3 separate regions of the Homo sapiens genome follow, and regions 1 and 3 are each linked to region 2. The links are contacts of gene promoters, found by promoter capture Hi-C in human tissues and cell types (Jung and others, 2019). All regions are on one chromosome and are shown on one strand. The core of a region is centred on a gene start or on the middle of the fragment in contact, and the rest is flanking DNA. Distances in the headings are between cores, read along the strand shown. Region 1 overlaps LOC124904790. Region 2 holds the start of CYP2F1 (cytochrome P450 family 2 subfamily F member 1). Region 3 overlaps LOC124904790.

The links. Contacts are between HindIII fragments. The study calls those that stand out against the background at their distance.
Region 1: a fragment that was not itself captured here is called in contact with the fragment with the promoter of CYP2F1 in region 2 in 2 of the 25 tissues and cell types used here (IMR-90 fibroblasts and aorta).
Region 3: a contact is called between a fragment that was not itself captured here and the fragment with the promoter of CYP2F1 in region 2, in 2 of the 25 tissues and cell types used here (psoas muscle and spleen).

The regions. Positions count from the first base shown.
Region 1 is chr19:41,171,564-41,174,539 of GRCh38, reverse strand. All of the region lies in intron 2 of LOC124904790, which reads left to right. Among named protein-coding and RNA genes, the nearest start is that of CYP2S1, 20 kb to the left of the region's middle. The HindIII fragment of the contact is 4,900 bases long and covers 1-2,976 here.
Region 2 is chr19:41,112,995-41,115,832 of GRCh38, reverse strand. It overlaps CYP2F1 (cytochrome P450 family 2 subfamily F member 1), which reads right to left and starts at 1,401. Exons shown (of 10, transcript NM_000774.5): 1 at 1,341-1,401. The HindIII fragment of the contact is 13,902 bases long and covers 1-2,838 here.
Region 3 is chr19:41,149,561-41,152,260 of GRCh38, reverse strand. All of the region lies in intron 2 of LOC124904790, which reads left to right. Among named protein-coding and RNA genes, the nearest start is that of CYP2F1, 36 kb to the right of the region's middle. The HindIII fragment of the contact is 5,706 bases long and covers 1-2,700 here.

The DNA.
Region 1 (2,976 bases), core at 355-2,854, 59 kb before region 2:
AGATCGGGGATGACATGTGAGTGCAGCCCTCAGAGGTTTATGGGGATCATATGATGAATACCTGCGCAGCGTTTAGGCGAATACTTGCACGTAGCCAACGTGTGCCAGCTGGCGTTCACTGCCCTTCTGCTCTCCATGCTTTTTCTGTGCTAGGTGTGGCACCGAAATCTTACAACAGCCCGAAGTCGGCACCTTTATGATCTCCACTTTATTATGCTTTTCATAGGAATTCAGTTACATAAGTAATAGATGATTATGGGTTGATTACAAATTTCAGCCGGGTACGGTGGCTCAGGCCTTTCGGAGGCCAAGGTGGGAGGATCGCTGGAGCTCAGGAGTTCGAGACCAGCCTGGGCAACATAGCAAGGCCCCCATCTCTAGAAAAAATTTAAAAAATTTAAAAATTAGCTGGGTGTGGTGGCAGACGCCTGAAGTTCCACCTACTTGGGAGGCTGAGGAGGGAGGATCGCTCAAGTTCGAGGCTGCAGTGAGCCATGATCGCGCCATGGCCCTCCAGCCTGGGCAAAAGAGCAGGACCTTGTCTCCAAAAAAGGAAAGAGAAAAATAAAATTTCAAAGACTACAGAAAAATAACTCCCTTTCTCCCTTCAACCCACTATTCCCTGGCTGCTGTCTATTTCAGTCCCACCCCCAGCTGTCCATCGCCGGCCACTCCTGCCATTACTATTGTTCTAAAGCTGCCAGAGTCAGCCTGGCCTGGTTCTATTCTTTTCTATCTTTCTAGAAGGTAAGACCCACTCTGGGTGGGTCAGGAGGTTAGTGTGTTACTTTTTTTTTTTTTTTTTTTTGAGACGGAGTCTCGCTCTGTCACCCAGGTTGGAGTGCAGTGGTGCGATTTTGGTTCAATGCAACCTCTGCTTCCTGGGTTCAAGTGATTCTTCAGCCTCAGCCTCCGGAGTAGCTGGGATTACAGGCATGTGCCACTATGCCCAGCTAATTTGTGTATTTATAGTGGAGATGGCGTTTCACCATGTTGGCCAGGCTGGTCTCGAACTCCTGACCTCAAATGATCTGCCTGCCTCGGCCTCCCAAAGTGCTGGGATTACATGCGTGAGCCACTGCGCCCGGCCTCTATGCGTTACTTTGGAGAAGTCACGTTCCTCTTTACACACCCATGTGTCCAAATGTGAAGTCCATTCCATCTCCATTTAGTTCCAGTTTTTATTTCAACATGCTGCAGCTTCCAGAATAAGGAGTAGCTGGAGAAGATCCAGAGTGTGGCATGCAGAAAGCCCCTCCACCAGTGCCAGGCACTGAGGCCCCAGGGAACTCCTGACCTCCGCTCCTTTATGCAGAGTTGATGCCAGGCCTGCATCCAGGCCTGACTGGGTGATGCTGGGGAGGCAGTAGAGACAGAGACAGCCCTACCCCCATGGGGCCCACAGTCCAGTTGAGGAGGCAGGTTAGTCACCAGACCTTGACTGCCCAGAGTGGTCGGGGCTGGGATGGGGGAGGCCAGGGGGCCTGTGGGAGCCCAGAGTAAGTGCCTGCCCTGGCCGGAGAGTGGTGAGTATCAGGGAGGGCTTCCTGGAGGAGGGGATACATGGATCTGAAGAATGACTCGAGAAAGATCATGGGGAAGAGTGTTCCTGCAGGGGGAATAGCATGTTGGGTGGCTGAGAGGGTAGCAGGAGGGATTGGAGGAGACCAGGGTTTTTGATGATGATTTCAGCACAGAGTGCTGGGGCTGTGGGGGAGGTGGGGGAACTGATTTCTCACCTCAGGGAGGGGCAGGACTTTGGAGGAGAGAGGAGAGCAAACATTCCAGGTGGGGAAACACCTGTTACAAGCCATAAGAGGGAGTGTATGGCGCTGGAGGCCCAGCAAGGCCAGTGTGGTTTAGCACAGATCCTTGCTGTGGACACAGAGTTGGGAGTCCTTGGCAGACAGACAGCAGATTCTGCAGCTCTGTGAGTGACCAGGCTCACCTGGGAGAGAGGGTGAGAAGAGGACCTGGTTTCTAGCATGTGGAGGTGGGGTGGGGGAGAAGGCAGAGCAAGGGAGACTGAGGGTGGGGACCCAGGAGGTGGAACACCGCCACCACCAGGAAGCTGGAGGAGGGGCTCTCAGCCAACTCCCCACCAGAATTTGTATTGTATAATTCTAAAAACGATGTCTGGTTAACATTTATTTTTATGTTCAAATGTATCTTTTTAGAATATTGTGCCAGTCTTGAAGATCACTGGAGATACTTCTACCTTCACCTACAATTTTCTTTCTTTCTTTTTTTTTTTTTTTGAGACAAGGTCTCACTCTCTTGCCCAGGCTGGAGTGCAGTGGCACGATCTCAGCTCCCTGCAACCTCAACCTCCCAAGCTCCAGTGATCCTCTCACTTTAGCCTCCCAAGTAGCTGGGACTACAGGCGCATGCCACCAGACTGGGCTAATTTTTGTATTTTTTGTAGAGACGGGGTTTCACCATGTTGACCAGGCTGGTCTGGAACTCCTGGACACAAGTGATCCGCCCGCCTTGGCCTCCCAAAGTGCTGGGATTAAAGGCGTGGGCCTCCGTGCCCGGCCCTGTTTTACTCTTTTCCTGGTGCCTTTTTTTTTTTTTTTGAATTGGAGTTTCGCTCTTGTTGCCCAGGCTGGAGTGCAATGGCGCGATCTCGGCTCACCGCAACCTCTGGCTCCCAGGTTAAAGGGATTCTCCTGCTTCAGCCTCTGAGTAGCTGGGATTACAGGCATGTGACACCACACCCAGCCAATTTTGTATTTTTAATAGAGATGGGGTTTCTCCATGTTGGTCAGGCTGGTCTCAAACTCCCCATCTCAGGGATCTGCCAAACTCCCCATCTCAGGGATCTGCCGCCTTAGCCTCTCAAAGTTCTGGGATTACAGGCGTGAGCCACTGCGCCCAGCCCTTCCTGGTGTCTTTGATGAACTACATTTGAATGTAGTCCAATTTATCAATCTTTTCAGTAATGTTTGTGCTTTTTTGTGTCATTTTTAAGAA
Region 2 (2,838 bases), core at 152-2,651:
TCTATCATCTATCACTCTTTCTTTCCTTCCTTCCTTCCTTTCTTTTTCTTTCTTTCTTTTTTCTTTTTCTTTCTTTCTTTGTTTCTCATCTATTATCTAACATCTATCAACATCTATCTATCATCTATCTATCTATCTATCATCTATCATCTGTCTATCCATCATCTATCTATTCTTCTATCATCTATCATTGATCTGTCTATTATCTATCATCTATTATCTATCTATATCTATCATCTATCTACTATCTTCATAATCTATCATCTGTGTATCATCTGTCTATTATCTATCTATCATCACCTGTCTGTCAAGAGACTGTCATACAGAGACAGTGATAAAGAGAGATCAAGACACACAGGGACAGAGACAGACAAACACAGAGATAGGGAGAGCCAGAGAGCACATCACAGAAAGAGAGAGGCTGACATAGACTAGAGAAAGAAAGAGACAGAACTAGACAGACACAGAGCTAGAGAAAGACAAGGGAGATTGAGTGGAGAGACAGTGAGATGGACACTGACTGAGAGACAGAGAGGGACATGGAAGGATGGAGAGAAAAAGGGTAAGAGGGACAGAGAGAGGGAGAGACAGAGCTAGACACAGAGACTGAGGGAGACGAGAATGACAGACAGAAACAGATACACAAAGACAGAGTCACATAGACAGAGATGGAGAGAGAGAGAGAGAGAATAAGAGAGGCAGGGAATATTAGAGCCACACAAAGAGACGGGTAGGCTGCAAAGGGCAGACCAAGAGAGACTGAGGCCGGGCACGGTGGCTCACGCCTGTAATCCCAGCACTCTGGGAGGCCGAGGCAGGCGGATCACTTGAGGTCAGGAGTTTGAGACCAGCCTGGCCAACATGGTGAAACCCTGTCTCTACTAAAAACACAAAAATTAGTCAGGCGTGGTGTTAGGCACCTGTAATCCCAGCTACTCAGGAGGCTGAGGCAGGAGAATCGCTTGAACCCAGGAGGTGGAGGTTGCAGTGAGCTGAGATTGAACCACTGCACTCCAGCCTCAAAAAAAAAAAAAAAAAAAAAAAGAGAGAGAGAGAGAGAGAAAGAGACGGAGACAGAGAGGAAGGGCACAGGCAGAAACAGTGACAGGAAAAAATCAAGTGTTGCCAACCATGGGGTTGCATTGCAGAGAGAGAAGCCACCTACTTGGTGAAGCACCAGTAAAGAAATCCCAGTGCTCAGAACAGGGACATGAGAGCTCTCAGAGGAAACAGCAAAAAAGATTCCTAGCCAGTCTCAGAGACAGAGATTGGAGCTGGCGACCCACCCTCTCTTGGGAGACACCCCCTCCTTCTCTGCCTCCCTCACCGGGGCCCTTTACCTGCTGAGCTGCAGGAGACACTGGCTGGGATGCGCTAGAGCCTGCAGCTCTGGGTGTGCTTGGGGGGTGGTGGGGCAGAGGTTGTTCTTAAGTTGTTTCTGCCCACACCCTCCTCCTTAACCCCACTTTTCTTGTTCTCGCTGTGAACTTTAAATCCCTCCCATCATCTTGCCATACCTTTCCTGCGGCCCTAGGGCTCACAGCCAGCTGGAAAGGTGCCGTGGGAGGGGGCTGCGCCTGGGGGCCCTCCTGGGATGGGGCAAAGCTTTCTTTCTTTCTTTGTTTTTTTTTTTTGCTTTGCCAGTTGGAGCCTGGGCCTGGTTTTGGGGTAGTCATGGGGCTGTCGCAAAATGATGGGCCAGGGATGGGGGCTGGGTTCCTTTGGTATTTGGGGCACTTGTTTCTTTTTCTCTGGGTTCAAGTCCATTTCTGCCACTGATGGGCCGAGTGGCCCTGGCTAAGTCCCTTTCCCTCCAGAGCTGGAGTTTTCTCTTTCTCTGGAAGCCTATTTTTTCATAGTTCTCCATGCTGTTCCCTGTCTCTTGCCGTGGGTCTCTGAAATGCTCTGTGTCTTGCTTTGCTTCTGCCTCTACAGTCTCTGCCTCTGAATCTTTTTGTCTCTCTGTGTCTCTGTCTCTCCCTCCTTTGGTGTCTCTGGGTCTTCATTTCTTATGCTCTCTGGGCTTTCTCCTTCTCTCTGCTTCTCTCCCTGATCTCCCTGTAAGTCCCTCTCAGTCACTGTCTCCTGATCTCTCTGGTCTCTCACTCTCTCTATCTCTCATGTCTCCACGAGTCAGACTGCACTTGGTGGGACTGAAGCCAAGCTGAGGCTGAAGGAGTGTTTAAGAAAAGGGCAGAGCTGGAAGCCACAGGGAAAAAGCCTCTCAGACTAGAATGACACTCTCTCCCACCACTGGCTCATAAACAGCCCTCCTCCTGCCCTCCTGAGCACCCTACTAGCCATGTCTACTCTCAGCTCCTGCCTTAGAAACTCACCCTAGTAGGCCAGGCGCAGTGGCTCACGCCTGTAATCCCAGCACTTTGGGAGGCCGAGGTGGGTGGATCACCTGAGGTCAGGAGTTCAAGACCAGCCTGGCCAACATGGTGAAACCCTGTCTCTACTAATAATACAAAAATTAGCCAGGCATGGTGGCTCACGCCTGTAGTCTGAGCTACTTGGGAGGCTGGGGCAGGAGAATCGCTTGAACCCGGGAGGTGGAGGTTGCAGTGAGCTAAGAACATGCCACTGCACTCCAGCCTGGGCAACAGGGTGAGACTCGGTCTCAAAAAAAAAAAAAAAAAAAAAAGAAGAAGAAACTGGCCCTAGTTACCCACCTCCTGGCCAGGTCACAAGGGCAGAATGCAAAACCTGGAGCTGGGCCAGGGCTCTGGTGCCAGGGGCTAGGCTGGGTGGAGAGCCCCTGCGGTCAAGGGTCTGGGAGGCCAGGTGGAGGTGTGGGTACCCCCACAGGTTCGTGGGTGTGCACCAGGATTGCTG
Region 3 (2,700 bases), core at 164-2,663, 36 kb before region 2:
CTGGCTAATTTTTGTATTTTTAGTAGAGACGGGGTTTCACTGTGTTGGCCAGGCTGGTCTCGAACTCCTGACCTCGTGTTCCACCCGCGTCGGCCTCCCAAAGTGCTGGGATTACAGGCACGAGCCACTGCGCCTGGCCTGCTAAACTTTTAAGAAATTTGCAGAAACTTTTTCTAAGCAGTTGTACGTTTTATACACCCATAGTCATGAACGAGAGTTCTGGTGATCCTTGCCAGCACTAGGTGCTGTTTGCATATTTCCATTTAGCCTTTCTTATGGGTGTGTGGTGGTATCTCAGTGTGGTTTTAATTTGTGTTTCCTGTTGGCTAATGACATTAAACACCTTTTTATAGCCTGTTGGCCATTTTTTGGTTGGGCTTTTTTTTTTTTTTTTTTTTTGGAGACGCAGTCTCACTCTGTCGCCCAGGCTGGAGTGCAGTGGCGCGATCTCGGCTCACTGCAAGCTTCGCCTCCCAGGTTCACGCCATTCTCCTGCCTCAGCCTCCCGAGTAGCTGGGACTACAGGCGTGTGCCACCATGCCCGGCTAATTTTTTGTATTTTTTTAGAAGAGACAGGGTTTCACCATGTTAGCCAGGATGGTCTCGATCTCCTGACCTCGTGATCCACCCCACCTTGGTCTCCCAAAGTGCTGGGATTACAGGTGTGAGCCACCGTGCCCGGCTGGTTGGGCTTTTTTTTTTTTTTTTTTATTGAGCCATAGGAGTTGTTTAGATATTTCAGGCACGGGTTATTTTGTGAGATATATGTGTTGTGAATATTTTCTTCTGGTCTGTGCCTGGTCTATATATCTTCTTTTCTTTTCCTTTCTTTCCTTTTTTTTTTTTTTGATGGAGTCTCTCTCTGTTGCCCATGCTGGAGTGCAGTGGCACAATGTTGGCTCACTGCAACCCCTGCCTCCTGGGTTCAAACAATTCTCCTGCCTCAGCCTCTTGAGTAGCTGGGATTACAGGCGTGTGCCACCACACCCGGCTAATGTTTATATTTTTAGTAGAGATGGGGTTTGGCCAGACAGGTCTCAAACTCCTGACCTCGGGTGATCTGCCTGCCTTGGCCTCCCAAAGTGCTGGAATCACAGGTGTGAGTCACCACGCCTGGCCGGTCCGTATATTTTCTTAATGCTGGTTTTGGATGAGCAAAAGTACTACTATTATTTATTTATTTATTTTAAATATAGAGACTGGTTCTCACTACGTTGCCCAGGCTGGTTTAGAACTCCTGGGTTCAAGCAATCCTCCCACCTTGGCCTCCTAAAGTGTTGGGATTAGAGGCATGAGCCACCGTGCCTGGCTGAAAGTATTATTTTTGACTAAGTCCAGTTTGTCAATTTTTTCCTTTATGATTAGTGATTTTTGAGTCCCATGTTAAAAAAAAAAAAAGATCTACTTCAAGGTTTTGAAAATATGTTTTTAGAAGTTCTTTAGCTTTAGTCTGTACTTTTAGATCTCTGACCTATTTCAAGTTAATTTTTGTGTATGATGTGAAGTAAAAGGCAGGGTTCGTTTTGTTTCCATGAGGCTATTTAGTCATTCTACCATTTGTTGAAAATACTGGCCAGGTGTGGTGGCTCACACCTGTAATCCCAGCACTTTGGGAGGCCAAGGTGGGTGAATCACAAGGTCAGGAGTTCGAGACCAGCCTGGCCAACATGGCGAAACCCCGTCTCTACTAAACATACAAAAATCAGCTGGGCATGGTGATGCATGCCTGTAGTCCCAGCTACTCGGGAGGGTGAGGCAGGAGAATTGCTTGAACTGGGACCCGGGAGGCAGAGTTTGCGGTAAGCCAAGATTGAGCCACTGCACTCCAGCCTGGGCTACAGAGCAAGACTCCTCAAAAAAAAAAAAAAAAAAAAAAAAGAAAAAAAAAGAAAAAGAAAATACTGTCTTTTCTCCACTGAATTATCTTAGCATCTTTGTCAGTAATCAATTGAAAGCAGGTGAGGGAGGCTGAGGCAGGAGGATCGCTTGAGTCCAAGAGTTTGAGACCAGCCTGTTAAACACAGTGAGACCCCCAACTCTAAGAAAAAAAAATTCTATTGACCACATATTTATGGACTTCCTAGTTTATTCCATTCATCTCTTTCTATCGGAATCCCAGTACACCTTGCCTTTATTACTGTAGTGTGTGTGTGTGGTTTTTTGTTTTTTTGAGACAGAGTCTTGCCCTGTCACCCAGGCTGGAGTGGAGCAGTGCCATCATGACTCACTGCAGCCTAGACCTCCTGGGCTCAAGCGGTCCTCCCACCTCAGCCTCCTGAATAGCTAGGACCACAGGCACATGCCATCATGCCTGGCTAGTTTTTTAAGTTTTTGTAGAGATGGGTTCTCACTATATTGCCCAGGCTGGTCTTGAACTTCTAAGCTCAAGTGAACTTCTGGGCTCTTGCATTGGCCTCCCAAAGTGGTGGGATTACAGGCATGAGCCACAGTGCCCAGCCTATTACTGTAGTTTTATTATAAATTTTGATATTAATATAAATCCTTCCATTTGGCTTTTCTTTTTCTTTTTTTTTTTTTTTTTGAGACGAAGTTTCACTCTGTCCAGGCTGCTGGAGTGCAGTGGCGCGATCTTGGCTCACTGCAAGCTCCACCTCCTGGGTTCACGCCATTCTCCAGCCTCAGCCTCCCAAGTAGCTGGGACTACAGGCGCCCACCACCACGCCTGGCTAATTTTTTTGT